Linked DNA regions of Homo sapiens: region 1 is linked to region 2. The links are contacts of gene promoters, found by promoter capture Hi-C in blood cells and fetal thymus (Javierre and others, 2016). All regions are on one chromosome and are shown on one strand. The core of a region is centred on a gene start or on the middle of the fragment in contact, and the rest is flanking DNA. Distances in the headings are between cores, read along the strand shown.

Region 1 (5,359 bases), core at 1,867-4,366, 110 kb before region 2:
GCCCTGGAAAGCCCGTCCTCTGAGTCTCTGATTCTCTTCTTCGCTTGGAACGGCTTTTGCTTAGAGAGTGCATTGGGGAGCGGAGGATAAGAGAATGGGGGAGCTCTGAGATCCCTACTCCTCTCTGTGTGGGGTGATGGGGAAGAGAAAGGGCATGAGAGACTGGCAGGCTGGGGGCCAACGGGATGTTGGCACCGTCGGGACCTCGGGCACTGCAAGATCCGGAGGAAGAAGCTTGGATGCAGCCTCGAGAAAGCTACGGCGGAAGAGGCAGGACTCCGGTCCTGGGTTCGGGCGGCTGAGAAAGGACTGGGCCGGGCAGCGGGGGGCGCTGGCTGGGCGGAGGCGAAGGGGCATCCGGAGTTCCCCCGCCGCCGCCCCCTCCCCCGGGCTGGCGCTCCCTCTCGGGCTCTAATCGGCGCGGCGGCCGCAGCGGGCAGAGTCAGCGCCGCCAGTCTCCGGGACGCGACTCCCAGCAATTGTGGTCGGGACCGCAGATATGCAGCTGCCTCCTGCCCGGGCGCCTGGCCCGGCCGGCCCCGCCCGCGCCCCGCCCCCTGCCGCCCGCCCCTCGGCCGCGCCGGGACACTGAGGCACGGGATGGAGGCGAGATCCCCGGCGGCCCTGAGCCTGGCCTAGGCCGCAAGAGACCTCCCAGCAGCCCCGGAGCTCACGACCTGTCCTGTCCTTCTGAGGGTGCCTATCTCCCCCACAGCTGTGGCTGGGGGCTAAGACCCCCCAAATCCTGCCTCAGCTTCAACCGTCCTTCTTGCCTCACACGTCCACGCGAGGTGGGGGTGGATGGGGGCATTGAACAGCGCTTTGAAATCCAGAGGGGGGCGTCCCATTGAGGCTATGTGGGGAGGAGGTGTTAATGTTGGTAGCTGAGTCCCAAGGACCTTCATTAACTGAGGCGGTGGAAAGTGGGCCTAGGTAGGCTTATAACTTACAGCGGGTTCCTATGTAGGGGAGGTGATGGAAGGTGGGGAGAGGGAGAAATGGGTGAAAAGGGGGAAAGGAAATAGTTCAGGAGGGATTGGGGCAGAGGGCAGAGGCGGGGGTTCTTCTGGGAGACTGAGGGCCAGGTCCTCAGATACTGCCCTGGCCCTTCACTGTTGGCCGGATCCAGCAACTGTCAAGAGCCATTCTCAGAACTGAATAGATACCTCTAAAATGCCTGCATATCCTGTGTGCAAGTGCACACATCAACACACAGATCAAGGGAAGTCATGTGTGACTACTCACCCCTCACATCTGATTGGACACCAAATCCTCTCCACCTCACATCCTCAATATCACCCCTTCATTGACTTATTTTTTTATTTTTTTTTTTCTTGAGACAGAGTCTGGCTCTGTCGCCCAGGCTGCAGAGCAGTGGCACAATCTCAGCTCACTGCAACCTCCGCCTCCCAGGCTCAAGAGATTCTCATGTCTCAGCCTCCCAAGTAGCTGGGATTACAGGCATGTGCCAAAAATTGGCACAGCCAATTTTTGTATTTTTAGTAGAGAAGGGGTTTCACCATGTTGGCCAGGCTGGTCTCAAACTCCTGGGCTCAAGTGATCTGCCCGCCTTGGCCTTTCAAAGTGCTGGTATGTGCCACCGTGCTGGCCCCCTCCACTGACTTCTGCTCATCCTCTCTGCTACTGCAGGCCACACCTTCCCACATCTTGCTTGGACTGCTGCAACAGATTGTTTCCTTGCCTCCGATTTTGCCCTTCTCCCAACTGTGACAATACTGCTAGGCACCATTTATGGAGCAACTACTAAGTGCCAGACACTGTGCTAAGAACTCAACACTTTTTATTGCTAATCCTTGTAACAACCCTGGGAGGTTACCATATTAAGTTGCCCCTTTCAACAGGAGAGGAATCTTAGGCCTCAAAGGTTAAATAGCTCACCCAAGCTTGCACCATTGTAAATGCCTGATTTACCCAGAACCGCCTGGCTCTAAGCCCTTATTTCATTCTCCTCTCTGAAGTCAGTCATTTCTCTAATATACGAGTATTCTCATATATTGCCTTTGGATCAAGTCTAGGCCCCTTGCATAGCTGATTAGAACTTCTCCATCAGCCTCCACTCTGTGTTGCACTCACACTCAATTTTCAGCATCTCAAAAGTTGTTAATCCCTCATACCTCTGAGCCTTTGCATATACTCTTCCCCCTTCCTACAACACTCTTCCTTTTTTTTTTCTTTTAGACAAGGTCTCATTCTGTCACCCAGACTATGTTTTTTTTTTTTTGTATTTTTTGTAGAGATGGGGTTTCGTCATGTTGCCCAGGCTGGTCTCAAACTCCTAGACTCAAGTGATCCACCCACCTCAGCCTCCCAAAGTGCTGGGATTACAGGCATGAGCCACTGCACTGGCACCACTCTTCCTTTTTTTACTTGATAACTCTTATTTGTCCTTCAGTTTCTTTACTTAGTCATGCTGTCTTCCAGGAAGCCTTCCTTAATTCCCCCCCAACACTGGCTTAGATTTACTCTTTTGTCTCCTATAACATCCAGTACTTATTTTTTATTTTATTTTATTTTTATTATTTATTATTTATTTATTTATTTATTTTTTGAGACGGAGTCTCTCTGTGTCACCTAGGCTGGGATGCAGTGGCACAATCTTGGCTCACTGCAACCCCCGCCTCCCAGGTTCAAGCAATTCTCTGCCTCAGCCTCCCAAGTAGCTGGGATTACAGGCATCTGCCACCACATCTGGCTAATTTTTTTGTATTTTTAGTAGAGATGGGGTTTCACCATCTTGGCCAGGCTAGTCTCGAACTCCTGACCTTATGATCTACCCACCTTGGCCTCCTACAGTGTTGGAATTACAGGCGTGAGCCACCACGCCTGGCCCTCCAGTACTTATTCTATCGAGATACTTCCTACTCTTTTGTATTAGTTGCTGGTTAGTTTGTGAGGTGAAGGGATGAGTCTGTCTTGCTTGTTATTGCATGCCTAAGTCTAGCCCAGTGTGCTTAGCACAAAGTAGGTGCTTTCTGAACATTTGTTGAATGAAAGAATGTTCTTTAAGTTCATTCCACATTTCAAAAATCTGGGCTCCGAGGAAGAATGCAGCAGGCCAGAGAAAGCGGGGAGACGTGTGTATTTAGGAATTTTTTTTTTTTTAAATGGAGTCTCGCTTGTCTTCCAGGCTGGAGTGCAGTGGCACAATCTCGGCTCACTGCAATCTCTGCCTTCTGGGTTCAAGTGATTCTCCTACCTCAGCCTCCAGAGTAGCTGGGATTACAGGCACGCGCCACCACACCCAGCTAATTTTTGTATTTTTAGTAGAGACAGGGTTTGTTTGTTTGTTTTTTGTTTTTTTTTTTGAGACGGAGTCTCGCTCTGTCGCCCAGGCTGGGGTGCAGTGGCGCGATCTCGGCTCACTGCAAGCTCCACCTCCCGGTCACGCCATTCTTCTGCCTCAGCCTACCAAGTAGCTGGGACTACAGGCGCCCGCCACCACGCCCGGCTAATTTTTTGTATTTTTAGTAGAGACAGGGTTTCACCATGTTAGCCAGGATGGTCTCGATCTCCTGACCTCGTGATCCGCCCTCCTCAGCCTCTCAAAGTGCTGGGATTACAGGCATGAGCCACCTCGGCCAGCCTGAGACAGGGTTTTGCCATGTTGGCCACGCTAGTCTCAAACTTCTGACCTCAGGTGATCCACCCACCTCGGCCTCCCAAAGTGCTGGGATTACAGGTGTGAGCCACCTCACCAGGCCTGTATTTAGGATTTTGAAGGACCATTCCCTTGAGTTGCTCAGCCTCACTCCTAGGGATGATGTGATCAGAACTCCATCACCCCAACTTCTTCTTATGAAAGACACTAGTATATTTCATGGATCAGATTCTAGGGTATCGTTTTTACAAAGGGTCATTTTCTAGAGATGACCAGGTTCTTACTTAATTCAATGTTGTCCCATTTTAGACACGGGCATCCAGGACAGGTCCCCTTGTTTCAGAATCAGACCCCAGTCTTCCTCTTCCTTTCATTTTTCACTTTGTCCCCTGCCATCCAGATTCCTTCCTGCTCCTTCCATGGCACTTCTGTTTCTGATTCTGATCTGCCTCTCCTAAAGCTGCTGAATTATATCAGGGCTCAATGTCAATGAAGGAACCCAAGGCTCAGGGAAGAGGGGAGCCAGAGTCAGTCCCAGAGGTCCTGCCTTGCAGCCCTGGTGCTGGAAGAGGGGATGGGGAGACCTAGCAGAGAGGGAGGGAAGTTGTAGTCTGTCTGTACCTGTAAATTTGTGTACATATTTGTTGGGGTGAGGAACTCCTTTTCCAAGCTGTCCTATACAAAGGTTGCCAGCCTCTTAAAAGCTTCCTTTCTACCCTGTGTCCTCAGCTTTGCCTCCTAAAATTGGATCCTCTTCCCCAAGTACCCTGAGCCTAGTGTCAGAAATGCTGGGTCAAGGCACTCGGCAGTCTCTAAATCCTGAGGCCATGAATGGATGTTCCTTCAACCCAAGGAGCAAGCTTTCCTGGTCATCAGCCCCATTGCTCTTAGAGGACCCAACAGACTAGTAGCTGATCCTCAGGGTCTCTCATCTGTATGCCCACCATTTGTTGTTTCCTCTTTGTCTCTCCTGTGTCTTTCTGTTTCCCTGTCTCTGCGTGCCTTCTTCTTTCCTGTCCCCTCTATGTTCTCTGTCGCTGGAGTATCCACTGGAGACAAGGGCTGGGCTGGGTGCATGGGCGGGTAGTGGCCAGACCAGGGGCCCGGGACATGAGCGCAACTTTCCAAGCTTCTCTTCCAGGCCCCTGTGGTTGGGGAGCTCCACAGAGGGAGAGATGAGTCAGCGGGGCCGCAGAGCAGCGGGGGCCTGGGTGGGGGTAGGGATGCTGGGGTTCCCCAGGACCAGGGAGTTCGCTGGGGCCATCTGGGTCTCTGAACTCTGGTGTGTGTGTGGAGTATTGGATCAAAAGTACCTAAAGGTACACTGGAACTTCTTATACTAGTAGGAGTTGGAGGCAGCAATTTGCAGGACTGGCAGTGGCCTCCATATCACCCTTATCTCCAGATCCTTATAGGGAGAGGGGTTCCCAAATGCCCTTTAGGAGACCACAGAGATCTCCAGGGCTGTAAAGTTGTAATGGTAGCCCTGGGTATATGTATGTGACATTTGCCACATGTGTAGATACGTGTGTTGATGGGAGTCTGTGAGTCCATGTGGGGAGTATTCTAGGTGGCTGTGAGTCTGTATGCATGTATATATATACTGGTGTGTGCATTTTTATGATTGGGGGTTAGGGTGTCTTGGGGTAAGCATTATCTGTATATGTATATATCAGTGTGTGTCAATATGGATGCCTGCATAGTACAAATGTGTATGAATTATGTGTCACCTTGTGTGTG
Region 2 (5,591 bases), core at 323-2,822:
ACTGCTGAGAGCTGCTCCCAGGGTAACCAAGCAAAGTCAACAGCAGCTAGGCCACCTGGGGACGGGACCCTGGAGTATCTATTCCTAGCTCTTCCTATCCCTGGAGTGAAAGAGAGGGCTTGTCTGCACCCCCATTGCCATCTCCCATTCCCTGAGGTAACCACAGCATGCCTCTTCTTTCCCCCATCTCCTTCACCTGACTTTGGCTACCAAAAGCAGCCTTTCCCAGGAGGGAGGACACCTGGCCCCCAGGGGGGAGCAAGGACAAAGCCAAGTAATTCCAGTATGGAAAATGTGACGTGACCCAGGAGTCTGTGTCCCAGGTCCTGGTCACCCTGCGAGCATTGCTGGGGAAGGTACTTTGGGTATGTCTGTCCAGCCTATCAGCCTAGCTCAGACTCTCCCCTTCTCCTCTTTCTCCCTCCCAACTCCAGTCCCCATGGGAGTGTTTGGGATCCGTGCACAGAGCTTGGACTGCAGACCCATTCTTTTCTCTCCCTCTGTCCTCAGTAGAATGCAGAGTGAAACCACTGGGTTCTCTCACTCTAGGGTTGAGAGTCTGTCTATGTTGAAGCAGATAATGCCCCCATCAGACACAGACACTCACTCTCGGCACTGGCATGCGCACGCGCTTGCACAGACACACACACACACACACGCACACACACACACACCCGGAGTCAACAGCATTCATGGCACATCTACCAGGCAGGCAGGCAGGCAGGCCGGTGCTGGCTAGGGCAGACACACACCCTCTGCCTGGGCTTTCTCTCTCACACCCAGCCCAAGGCTCCTCCCACTCCCAGCCACAGTTCCTCCTGCCCTCCTCTCCAGCCTCTCCCCTTCCAAATCCAGGCCTAAAGGTGGGGGACAACTGGCAGCCAGGGACCCAGGCGCCCTAACTCCTGGAGCTTACTCCAGGCAAGATGACAGGGAAGATGTCTGTGAGCCCTGGCCTCAGCACCCCCAGCAACAGCCACTAGTCAACCAGTTTGCTCCTGGGACCAAAGGACTGAGGTGGGCTAGGGGAAGGGAGAGGCTACTTGGATCTGCAGGTGAAGGCTGAGCAAAGAGTAAGGGCAGGAGCATCTATTCTAGATCTGGCATACTCCTGCCCGGCCAATCCAGCACTGGGAGGGAGTGGGTACCGCCCCATTGCCTACCCTGGGGAGGCGCCAGAGACTGGCCTCGCAAGAGTCACAGCCTGGCCACAGACAACTCAACTAGTCCCCCCAAAAGGCAGAAAGGAGAAAAGTGCCAGAGAGAAAAGGTTGGCATCACGGGGCCAGGACACTGACCTCCTCTGCCAGCCGTGCCCGGCCTCCCAGAGGATGGAGTCACGGAAGCCTAGCAAATGGGAAGGGCAGAGACCCAGGCGTCCCGGGCCGCCCCGCCCAGTCCCCCTCCCGCCCACCCATCCCTCCGCCCCCCAGCCCCAGGGCACAGAGGAGGGAGCCGGGCAGGGGCAGGCAGGGGAGGGAGGAGCGAGGGCGGGAGGGGGAGGAGGGAGTTGGGCAGGGAGGGAGGTTGGGGGGGGGGTGGGGAGGGAGAAAAAGAAAGAAAATATTTTCCGTGTCCCCGCCTGCAGAGTCAGTGTGCGGTTTGGGAGAAAATGTGTCGGATATTTTGGGGCGGTCACGTGGGCGGGCGGGCTCCGAGAGGCCCCGGGACAGTCCCAGCCTAGAGCCGTGCCCCCCCAGGAGCCCCCCAGTACGGCGAGCCCCGGACATTGCGACGCTCCATCCAAGAGACTGCCCGACGCCGGGACCTCGGGGCTCCGCCGCCTCCCTTCCCCCTCCCACTCCAGGTGAGTCAGGCGGGGAAGCAGGCTCGCCCGCCCCGTCGCCTGGGTCCTCCGGCGAGGCGGCTGGGGGAGGGGGCGCGGAGGAGCTGCACGGGCGAATGCCCTCCCGAGGCTGGCCAGGCTGGCCGCCGGGCTTGAGGGGGGCTTCTTGCCCCGACCCAGGCCAGTCCTGCTGTGGGAAGGGAATGGGGAAGATTTTAACAGGCTGAGGATGGGCTGGGTCATCTGCCCTTCATTTTGGTGCATAGCAGAGGACAGCATTTGGGGAAGTCTTCAGCCAGGGGGCATTCCTCCTTATATTTTTGTGCTGGGAATGTGAGAGAAGACAGGGTTTCCTCTCGCGGGGAAAGACTACCACCCCCTTACCCCCGGGCTCTGAGGGGTAGATTTGATGTTCCATGCTGGTCCAAGTTCCTCCCTCCCCAGTGGAATGGGACAGCTTGGACATCAGAAGGCAAGGAAAACGTCCAGAGGCAAGTGAGCCTGGCCCTCCGCGTCCAGGAGTTCCGAAGGACTGGTGCATAGGATAGGGATCTGTGAACTTTCCTTGAAGCGCTGGATTCCCTCCCACACGTTCCCAGCCCAGGTGCGAGCCTTGGCTCCCTCCAGCCAAGGTGGGGGGCACCTCTGGAGTATTCTTGAGGGAAGCCCAAATGGAACAAAGAAAGAGCAGGAAGACCGGGACAGGGACCCAGGAGTGCTGGTCCCAGAGTTCCACTGACGCTGCCTCTCTGTCTTTAGCAGCTACGGCCCAGTTCCCTCAACCTGACCCAGTATGTAGAAGCCAGTCTCTGCAGGCGGCCAGCGGGTAAGAAGATGCTTGGTTGTTAGTGGTGGTGGGGGCAGGGGAGCCTGAGTAGGAGGTCTTCAGGGCAAGAAACTGAGATGACTGTCCCGCTTTAGGGCTCTGGTCCTGGGCAGCTGGAATCCCAATCCTCAAGTCTGAGGCTTCTGCCCTTAGGGTCAGATGCTGAGTTGGGGTCAAGGACCATAGCCAGCATCTCATATCCTTGAGGCAAGTAGAGAGAAGACAGGGGAGTGGGGGTAGTGTGTGCAGGGAGCCTGGAGCTTGGGTATCCCATATAGACAGACATACACACACACACACACACACACACACACACACACACACACACACACGCACTGTGGCCTACAGCCTAGTAGGCAGCATGGGGCACGCCCCCCCACACCCCGGCACACCCCCACCCCTGGCTCAGAAAGCCACCTAACTGGCACCTCCAGTTCCCCCCTCTGCCCCACCCTGTCCATGCCCTCTGATGCCCACACACATTCCACTGGCATTGCCTGCCTGCCTCCTGGGCACTGCCCCTCCCTGGGGCTAGTAGGGTGGAGGGAGGGCACCTGGGGATGAGAGGTGGAGACTCAAGGGTCTGGACTCCCCCAGGGATGGCACAATGCCAAGGAAGCCTGGCCCACTGCTGCCTCCTGGGGAGCAGGCTGGGGGCCCAGGCTAGAGCAGAGGATGCCTGGGTTCTCTGCCCAGGCTGGAGATGGGGTCATGGAAAAAGGTGGTCGTGTTTATACAGAGGGGAGGGGGGCAGCGGGTGGAGAGTGGCCGACAAGAGCAGCTTTGTTCCAGGCTCTGGAGCGGGCAGGGCGACAGGGAAACACACCCCCCTCCATCCGGCAGCCCCCTTCATCCATGCCCTCCCCTCAACTCCACCTCAGCTCTAAGAGAAGCAGCTTTGTAAGAGCCCCTCTCCCCTAGTCTGTCATCCCCGCTGCCCCACCATTTGAGATGGCATCTTAGTAGAGGAAGAATGTTCTCTACTTTCCATGAGTCCCCCAAAGAACCAAGGCACCTGGGGCCTCAGTTTAGGACTTCCTTTTACTCTGCACTGCCTTCAATTCCTTAGTCCATTCTCCTACCCTGGGTTTAAGACCCTCCCCTTCTCTTCCCAGCCACGACAGAACCAAGGCTCAGAAATGGGAGGAATCTCTACCCCCTTCCTCTCTTCACTCAACTCCCAAGTCCCTTCTCTGAGGCAAAATAAGAGGAAGGCCAAGGACAACTCTCATTGGCTCACATGCAGCATCATTCCTTGGTGAGGATCAGGAGCTGAGCATCCCTCTGTGGGGACCCCCACTGCCCTACCTGCCTGTGTTTCCCATTGGTAGGTGAGAAGCAAAGACAAGGAGGGCTAAGGCAGAGAGCCCTGTTCCCAGTCTAAGCCAAGTCTGGGGAACATGGGGATGGGGGAGTCCTCTAGTAGCTTCTCACCCTTGTCATTGGAGGGGTTAATCCACCTGGAATGTGGCCTGGCCAGTTGAGCTGTGGCCCAGGGGCCTCAGGGGCCCCCAAACTCCTGGCTCCATCAGGGCTTAACTAGGGATGAGAACTTCGGAGGGGAATAGGAGAAGGAAAAGGAGAGGGACCCTGGAGGCTTGGAGCTCAGACTTTTAGGGCCTGCGAAGACACTGGGCTAAAGAGTTTGAGGGTGCTGGGTGTATGGGTGGTGCCATGGTGAGGGGCAGGGGATGCTTCATTCATAAGGGCTGAGTGAAATGTGATGGCGTTGGGGTCTGGGTTCTTGTAACCTCCATGACAGTTTACCCTCAAGGGCTTGAAGGCCAAGGTAGAGGAGAGAAAGAAAAACAAGCAAAAACAAAAATAAAAACCAGAGGTATAAAGACTGAGAGCTATACATCCTAGAAGCAAATACTGATGGAAAGAAAGGCAGATATACCCATCCCCTACCTCTGGGCCTGCCCACCCCATGGTCTCTCTGCATTTTAGTCTCTTGGCCCTTCTCTGCCCTTCATAGCAGTCTGTTATGGCTCTGACTGGTGGAGATACCCAGGCTGGGGTGACTTTTCCTCCCTAGCCCACTAACTGCCTAGAGAGGTGAGAAGTTCTGGGGCTCCTAGGAAAGCCAAACTTTTCCTTTGTCAGGGGATGAAGATAGGAACCACCTACTTAGCACTAGGATTCCCATCTCCTCTCTCTACCTCCTTCTCCTCCCCTTCCCCTGGGCTCAGGTTTAAACTCTTAGAGGGAAGCCTACTTTTGGGGGAGGAGAGGTTGCAGGGAGAACTTCCTAGAAACAGGGAGCCCAGGGATAAGAAAGAAAAGGAGGCAGAATGCCCGGGCGTGTCGCTCACGCCTGTAATCCCAGCACTTTGAGAGGCCAAGGTGGGCGGATCATCTGAGGTTGGGAGTTCGAGACCAGCCTGACCAACCTGGAGAAACCCCATCTCTACTAAAAATATAAACATTAGCTGTCTCAACAAAACAAAACAAAAAAAGAGAGAGAGAGAGAGAAAAAAGGAGGCAGAGAAGTAAAGTCAGCTGACCAAGAAGCAGCTCCTTGGCATCATACACTTGGCACAAGTGGGGGCTCCATCAACATCCTTAGATTTGAAGCAGTGGGTACAAGAGGGCTTACAGGGTGAGGAAAAATTGGAGACAGGAAGAATTGGGAGAGGAAACTGGAAGAGGGAGTGTTGAGGAAAACAGAGAGGGAAGTGCTTACTGAAGCAGAGTATGGAGGAAAATAAGGTACAAAGAGAACTAATATGAGACATTTACATCACATTTCCTATGTGCCCTACATTATGCCAGACACTTGACATTGGTTAATTTATTTAGTCCTCACAATAACCATATGAGGTAGGCCCTATTATTAGTCCCAAGTGACGCATGAAGAAACTGAGGCACAGAGAGATTAAGTGACATGCCTGAAGTCCCACAGCTAGCAAGTGGTGGGGTACAGTCCAGGTAGTCTGGCTCTAGAGTCTGTCCCCCTAACCTTTGCCTTGTACTCCT

The links. Contacts are between HindIII fragments. The CHiCAGO score rates a contact against its expected background, and 5 or more counts as called.
Region 1: a fragment that was not itself captured here is called in contact with the fragment with the promoter of RARG in region 2 in 1 of 17 cell types (total B cells); the score reaches 5.2 in total B cells.

Annotation. Positions count from the first base shown.
Region 1 is chr12:53,340,025-53,345,383 of GRCh38, reverse strand. It overlaps a transcript of SP7 not described here. Among named protein-coding and RNA genes, the nearest start is that of SP7, 6.4 kb to the right of the region's middle. RefSeq lists a silencer at 353-522. The HindIII fragment of the contact is 2,419 bases long and covers 1,907-4,325 here.
Region 2 is chr12:53,228,190-53,233,780 of GRCh38, reverse strand. RARG (retinoic acid receptor gamma) reads left to right here and starts at 1,572. Exons shown (of 10, transcript NM_000966.6): 1 at 1,572-1,807; 2 at 2,546-2,612. RefSeq lists silencers at 1,387-1,436, 1,757-1,886. The HindIII fragment of the contact is 21,807 bases long and covers 1-5,591 here.